2 separate regions of the Homo sapiens genome follow, and region 1 is linked to region 2. Evidence: promoter capture Hi-C in 16 types of primary human blood cells and fetal thymus (Javierre and others, 2016). All regions are on one chromosome and are shown on one strand. The core of a region is centred on a gene start or on the middle of the fragment in contact, and the rest is flanking DNA. Distances in the headings are between cores, read along the strand shown. Region 1 has its middle 14 kb from the start of TMSB15B-AS1. Region 2 holds the start of SLC25A53 (solute carrier family 25 member 53).

Region 1 (3,857 bases), core at 1,128-3,627, 220 kb after region 2:
TCTATCCATTTGACAAAGGGCTAATATCCAGAATCTACAAGGAACTTAAACAAATGTATAAGAAAAAAACAAAAACCCCATCAAAAAGTGGGCACAGGATATGAACAGACACTTTTCAAAAGAAGACATTTATGCGGCCAACAAACACACACACAAAAAAGCTCATCATCGTTGGTCATTAGAGAAATGCAAATCAAAACCACAATGAGACACCATCTCACGCCAGTTAGAGTGGCGAACATTAAAAAGTCAAGAAACAACAGATGCTGGACAGGATGTGGAGAAATAGGAATGCTTTTACACTGTTGGTGGGTGTATAAATTAGTTCAACCATTGTGGAAGAAAGTATGGTGATTCCTCAAGGATCTAGAACTAGAAATACCATTTGACTCAGCAATCTCATTACTGGGTATATACCCAAAGGATTATACATCATTCTACTTCAAAGACACATGCACACGTATGTTTACTGCAGCACTATTCACAATAGCAAAGACTCGGAACCAACCCAAATACCCATCAATGACAGACTGGATAAAGAAAATGTGGCATATATACACCATGGAATAATATGCAGCCATAAAAAAGAATGAGTTAATGTCTTTTGCAGGGACATGGATGAAGCTGGAAACCATCATTCTCAGCAAACTAATACAGGAACAGAAAACCAAACACTGCACGCTCTCACTCATAAGTGGGAGTTGAACAATGAGAACATATGGGCACAGGGAGGGGAACATCACACACTGGGGCCTGTCTGGGAGCGGGGGGCAAGGGGAGGGATAGCATTAGGAGAAATACCTAATGTAGATGACGGATTGATGTGTGCAGCAAACCACTATGGCACATGTACACCTACGTTACAAACCTGCAGGTTCTGCACATGTATCCCAGAACTTAAAGTACAATAATAAAAAAAAAAAACTAATGCAATCCTGTCATTTCTGGCAACATAGATGTGCTCAGAGGACATTATGTGAAGTGAAATGTGAAGTGAAATAATCCAGGCACAGAAAGGCAAATATCACATGTCCTCACTCATATGGGAGAGCTAAAAAAGTTGATCTCAAGGTGGTGGAGAGTAGAACTGTGGTTAACAGAGGCTGGGAAGGGTCCTGCAGAGGGGCGAATGAAGAGAGATTGGTTAATGGGTGCAAAAATAGAGTTAGAGAGAAGGAATAAGTTCTGCGTTCAATAGCACAACAGAGTGACCATAGTATTCAATTTATTGTGTATTTCAAAATAGCTAGAAGAGATTTGGAATGTTTCCCACACAAAGAAATGATAAATTTGAGCTGACGGATATCCCAATTACCTTGATTTGACCATTACATATTGTACGCATGTATCAAAATATCAAATGTACCCCAGAAACATATACAATTATTATGCATCAATAAAACGAATGAATTGTAAAAAAAAAAAAAAGAGAGAAAAAGAAAGAAAAGAAAACCCTGCAAACAACCAGAATGACCCTCAAACTTATCATGAATAAATTATGGTACAATGGTAAACTGTACAACAATAAAAATGGATCAACTACAGCTATCTGCAATATCGATGAGTATCACAAGCAATGTGGAGTGAAACAAGATAGTCACAATTCCAAGTTTATAAAGTATATAATGTTCAAACATCTGTAAAACAAAACTGTTGGTTAGGGATGCTTATAAGGAAGAAAACCTATAAACAAAAGCAAAGAAATGATTATCACAAAAGTCAGCATGGGGGCTAACCCTAAGATGGAAGAAGGGATATCATCATTGGCGGGGGGAGAGGAGTAGGTTATTAAAGGGCTCTATTTCTTGCCCGGGCTAGTTATTACATGGGTGATAGCTTTAAAAATGTTCTTTAAACTGGCAATTCTCGTCTGAGCGTATCTCTTTTCTTAAAGAAATAGAAAGCAAGGTCACTAGTTGGAAATGATGAGGGAGGGTATATTAAAAGATTTGAGGGAAGAAAGATGATATGAAAGAACCAGAGACATTGGAGAGTGAACAGACTAGAGAAATACAGTATTTTTATCCTATTATTTTATGAAAGCTTTTTATAGTTTCTGATTTATTATGCTTTTTCTCTCATATGCAACATTATTTTATATATAACTTTAATGTACTACACTATATGTCATTATCCCAGTAAAATTATAATGCTATTTAATGTTTAAAAATAAGTTGTAAAAGCAAAATTGTCTAAATAAACCATATAATGATTTGTCATAAAACATTAGTTATTTATTATTTCAACTTGAGCTCTAGAAAAGCTGATGTAGCTTATATTTAGACAAAAATATATATCATGCATATATTGTGTTTTGTGATGGCTTTTTATTCTTTTTCTTTTGACTTTTTATACCAAGTAGCTTTAGTGTTAAATTGTATATTTTATGTCTTTAAACAGATGTAGGTATTTATTACCTCCTTATTTTATTGATCTCAACTCCTAAAAGTCATTTTTTATATCAGAAAATATGCCCACATAAACATCACAAAACTAAATATTAATATTGACATTTGAAATTACTTGAAAACTACTACACCCTTAAATTTTGCTCAGAAGATTTAAGTGGAAAAAGTTGACAAGTCTGTATAATTTTACAGTATTGCCTAGGATTTTATATGAACCAATTTGTAAAACTCAATTATTTAAATTATAACATGCTTCAGTTGTAAATCCACGTTTATATTATAATTGAATAGCTTCAAGCTTTAAACATACATAAAGTTTTTATAAAGGCAAATATAGTAAATTTAAGCAATTATTAGCAACTTAGCTTTAAAATATGCTCTGAGGGGAAAACACACAAACTTTTTCCTTTGCTTTCACATCACGGCAATCAACAAAGAATATTTCCATGTTCAAATGTGTGGGGTTTTCCCACACACTAAGTGAGCAATCAGTTCTGCAGCAAACACCAGCTGGGTGTACTCCAATTCAATTCTGACACAAATCTACCTGGAGATAGCGTCATATCCCACAAGCTGAGGACTAGGTCTCACAAGACTGTTCCCAGGCCCTTCAGACACCAGTCGCAAATCCAGTCCTCCAGAACTTCTGACAGATGGGCTTCAAGTTTCGGTTCACATGACCCCCTCTTTGGGTTTGATTAATTTGTCAGAAAGGCTCACAGAACTCAGGGAAATACCTAACGTTGACCAGTTTATTATAAAGGATATTGCAAAGGATAGAGATGAAGAGATGCATAGGGTGAGGTACTGGGGAAGGGGCTCAGAGCTTCCATGCCCTCCTTGGGTCACCACCCTCCAGGAACCTCCATATATTCAGCTATCTGGAAGCTAACCAAACCCAGTTCCTTGGGGATTTTATGGAAGCTCCATTACATAGGTATGATTGATTAAATCATTGGCCACTGGTGATCGACTTAACCTTCCACCCCTCTCCCCTCCCTGGAGGTCGGGAATGAGGCTGTTAAGTCCCAACCCTCTAATGGCGCCTTGGTCTCTCTGGTGACTAGTTCCCATCCTGAAGCAACCAGAGGCTGCCAGCCATCAGTCAATTATTAGCATACAAAAAGATATCACTTTGGAAATTCTAAGGATTTTAAGAGTTGCATGCCAGGAAACAGGATCGAAGAGCAAATATATATTTCACAGTATCACATATACCATGTGACTTTTCATTTTATAATATTCTGCAATAACGGTTCCATTGTCATAGAGATAAAACACAGTCTTTTTTAAAAGAATTTGGATTTGCAAACATTGAATCGAGGAATACTGAAAATTGATGTATGCAATTCACAGTTCAGGGAAAAAATATCCTGTGTGTGTATAGACAGAGTGCACACTTAAATAATAAAGCAAATGGGGAGAAACATTAATAATAGGGGAATTAGG
Region 2 (3,877 bases), core at 552-3,051:
CAGCAAACCTGGTGATTTACCTTCTCCTTCAGTCCCTTCACCATCACCAATCCTTCCCCTGAAAAAACCATTGTGGACTGCCTGATGATAAGTTGGGAAGTGAGAGTGGGTAGGTGTGGAGCAAGAATAACAACATCCTGGGTACCGTACATTCTGAAGGAACAGAGGGAATTCCTGTTTTGTTTTAACCTGGGACAGAGGGGATTGGTTTGTTCTCTCCAGGCTGAGGCAGTAATTCCTGACTCTAGGGACTGCTGATATGGAAATTACTACTACCACTCTGGGTGGAGTCAGATGAGTATATTAAAGAGTCTCATTGTACTGTCCTAAAATAAGCAAGATCTTTGCTAATATCCAAGCTTTACAGAACGGTGGGATGAGGTGAAGGCCCTGTACCTTTATCCCCAGTGGTCTTCAGTACTATAGGAAGTAATGGGGCCTGTGTGGCACAGTGGAGGGCAATGAGTGAGCTGGTTATGCCAATTCCTACTATAGTCACCTCCTTGGCTGCCAGCCTTCAAGGGAGAGATCTTTGCCTTAGTGGGTTCTGCCCTTCTGCTTCTGAAGAGAACCTAGTCTTTCTGTATGGGCATTCAGGCAATTCTTGGGGTGGGGAGTTGGGGGAGAGAGAGCACTTGAAAAGAATTTATGGTGGCCTTTTTCTCAGTGATATTTGAGAAATACCAAGACACATCTGAATGTATCTGAGTTTAAGTCTTGGCTCTATTTGTTATTAGCTCTGTGACCGTGGGCAAGTTATTGATTTATATGCAATCTGACTAATCTGAGTTTTCTTAGCTGCTTTAAGCAGACAAAGAGGACAGGAAAGGGTAATACACTTAAGAACCAGCAAAGGGCTATTGTGAGGATGAAGCAATAACAACAAAATGGGTTTAAAGCACTTATCATAGTGCGTGGTCCATAGAACTGCAAACGTTGGATTTTGCTTATTTTAGGACAGTACAAAGAGACTCTTTAATATACTCTTCTGACTCCAGCCAGAGTGGTAGTAATTTCCATATCAGCAGTCCCTAGAATCAGGTATTACAGCCTCAGCCTGGAGAGAACAGGGCAATCCCCTCTATCCCAGGTGAAATGATTATTATCATTTATTATTTATTAGCCAGAGGTCTTAGGTGAGATCAAATTCAATCATTATAATTTATATTTCAATATACTGCTTAACTTCATGATAGGCAATGTTCTAGGTGCTCCTCACATGTGAAATTTTAATATTTTTACTGCAACTCTGGAGGTAAGTACTATTATTATACCAATTCTACAGATGAAAAAGCCAAGGAATAGCATGCTTGAATCACTTGCCCAAGATGCCATGTTTAGATAGTGGTACAGTGGGGATTCGAACGCGGGAGCTCAGGTTTCAAAGTCTGTGCTCTTTACATATGCAGCTAAAGAGTCAGACAAGAACCAAAAGGAGATGGAGAATAGAGGGTAGAAAGGGCACAGGTTCAAGGTGAAAGGTCAGAAACTGCAAATTCGGAGTTTGGGTTGGTCTAGCAGCTTAAAGGCGTCATCATGAACTGTTCACCTAAGTAAGTTAAGCTCCTGTTTGAGAATGACTGATAAGCTTGCAAGCCAACTTACAAACAAACTGGGGAAATGTTCCAATAGATGACTAAGTCTTTTAGGTCTTTTTACCTGTGTTTTTCGGTCTCTATACCAGATTAGTCGCCTGGCTCTCCCAAACAGACCGGCCAACTGACGTAGTCGCGAAACGGTTAATGTCGAGGCGGGGGCGGGGGAGGCGGAAATAAAGAGAGCGGAAGCAAAGAGGATTGTGGGAGCTCCGTTGTGCGTCGCTTAAGTGAGGGCGGCGGATGGGCGAAGGTCCGGTGACTGCGACTGTCGCTGCTTTCTGAGGCCACAGGAAAGGGGCCGTCGGTCGCCGCCATGACAGCGAGCGAGGCGGAGGTTTGTAGCACTTCTTATGGGCTGAGGGCGTAGACACATCCTGCTTCCAGCCTAGCAGGCAAACGGGAACGGAAGTGATAGGGGATCAGAAGTTGCGAGGGGATGAGGAGTAGGGGAAACTGACAAGCGGACGGACCCGGCGGCGAGAATTGATGGCGTAGCTGTAGGATTAAGGGGCGTGTCAACTGTGTTGTGTGTGTTGACACTGAGATGTGTGAATCCCCTCATTATTTTTAGCTGGGGACAGGCGGGGTCTATGGGGGAGGGGGCGGACGGATGAATGGAGGATAAAATCAGGGCGAAAACGTGTTGTCTGCTGGGCACCAGTACATCTGAGTCACATCTCAGCAGGATGATTTTATTGGAAAGATCTAGGTCCCTGGTTTCAGATTCTGCTATTGATGCGTTGATTGATTTCCCTTACCAAAATACCAAGTACCTGCTCTGTGCTGGGTACTGCACTAGAGGCTCCGGATGAGGAAAGGAATTAGGCTTTTTCCTCGACATTTACAGCCTGCCGGTTGCTATCTGCATTTGGAGACAGGCTATTACAATACAAGGAGACAGAGATAGATCCTGTGTTATGAAAATCTATTGGGTGCCACCGAACTCATCTGGGAGTTGAGATCTGGGACGGCTCTTTGATGCGGTGATTTAACATATATTTTGAAGACAAAATAAGCAGGGCAAAAACGAAGTGCAATTTTCCTCCAAGCACCTTCCCTCCCTGTTGAGGTGAACTGGAGAACTGAGTAGCATTTAAGGCCCAAAATTAGTGTATTTCTTTTTTTTTTTCTTTCTTTCTTTCTTTTTTTTTTTTTTGATAAGGAGTCTCTCTACTTCTGTCGCCCAGGCTGGAATGCAGTGGCGTGATCTCCGCTCACTGCAACCTCCGTCTGCCGGGTTCAAGTGATTCTCCTGCCTCAGCCTCCCGGGTTGCTGGGATTAGAGGCACCCACCACCACTCCCGGCTAATTTTTATATTTTTATATTTTTAGTAGAGACGGGGTTTTACCATGTTGGCCAGGTTGGCCTCGAACTCCTGACCTCAAGTGATCCGCCTGCCTCGGCCTCCCAAAGTGCTGGTATTACAGGCATGAGCCACCGCGCCCGGTCCCCACAACTAGTTTATTTCTGGTAAGAGCATTTGCCCATCACAATGGGACTTCCAGGCGCCTCTGGAAGAATCAGTCTTACGTGAGTGCAAAGCCTGCAAGCTCTGGGTAGGACTACGATGGAGGTGCTAGTTACTTGGTTTTCCAGCAAACTCGGTTCACAGCAGGGAATTGTGCACCCACCAGAAATCCTAAGCAATATTTCTCTGAACAAGAAAAGAAGCCTCTTTGTTTACCAGAGAAACAACAGTATAGCAGTCTAAGTCAGTGGCTCTCAAACTTTCCTGTGAATCAGAATCAGATGGAGCGTTTCTTAAAACCAAGATTGCTAGGTCCCATCCACAGAGTTGCCCCTACAGTTGGTCAGGAGTGGACCCCCGAATTTACATTTCTAACTAGTTCCCAGGAGATGCTGATACTCCTGGACATGGGGCCATACTTGGAGAACTATAGGTCTAAACGGAGCTGACAATAAATTGGAAAGAATATCTCCTGGAATCTCTTAGAACCCGGGAGGCAGAGGTTGCAGTGAGCCAAGATTGCGCCACTGCACTCCAGCCTGGGCAACAGAGTGAGACTCTGTCTCAAAAAAAAAAAAAGAATATCTCCCCTAGGGAAGGCTAGGCACACTCCTAAACGTCAGGCATGTCTGAATTCAGACACAGTAGATATGAAATAAAATGGACTTATTTGACACTGCTTAGAAAATCTTTTTATTTTTATATTTGTATAATTTTATTGTATATTTACAAATTGTATACATTTATAGAGTTCAAAGTGGTATTTTATATATATACAATGTAGAATGATTAAATCAAGGTAAATAACAT

What was found. Contacts are between HindIII fragments. The CHiCAGO score rates a contact against its expected background, and 5 or more counts as called.
Region 1: a contact is called between a fragment that was not itself captured here and the fragment with the promoter of SLC25A53 in region 2, in 1 of 17 cell types (total B cells). The highest score is 5.9, in total B cells.

The regions. Positions count from the first base shown.
Region 1 is chrX:103,931,406-103,935,262 of GRCh38, reverse strand. It overlaps a transcript of TMSB15B not described here. Among named protein-coding and RNA genes, the nearest start is that of TMSB15B-AS1, 14 kb to the right of the region's middle. The HindIII fragment of the contact is 663 bases long and covers 2,046-2,708 here.
Region 2 is chrX:104,154,933-104,158,809 of GRCh38, reverse strand. SLC25A53 (solute carrier family 25 member 53) reads left to right here and starts at 1,801. Exons shown (of 2, transcript NM_001012755.5): 1 at 1,801-1,932. It also overlaps a transcript of FAM199X not described here. RefSeq lists an enhancer at 1,728-2,027. The HindIII fragment of the contact is 6,927 bases long and covers 1,591-3,877 here.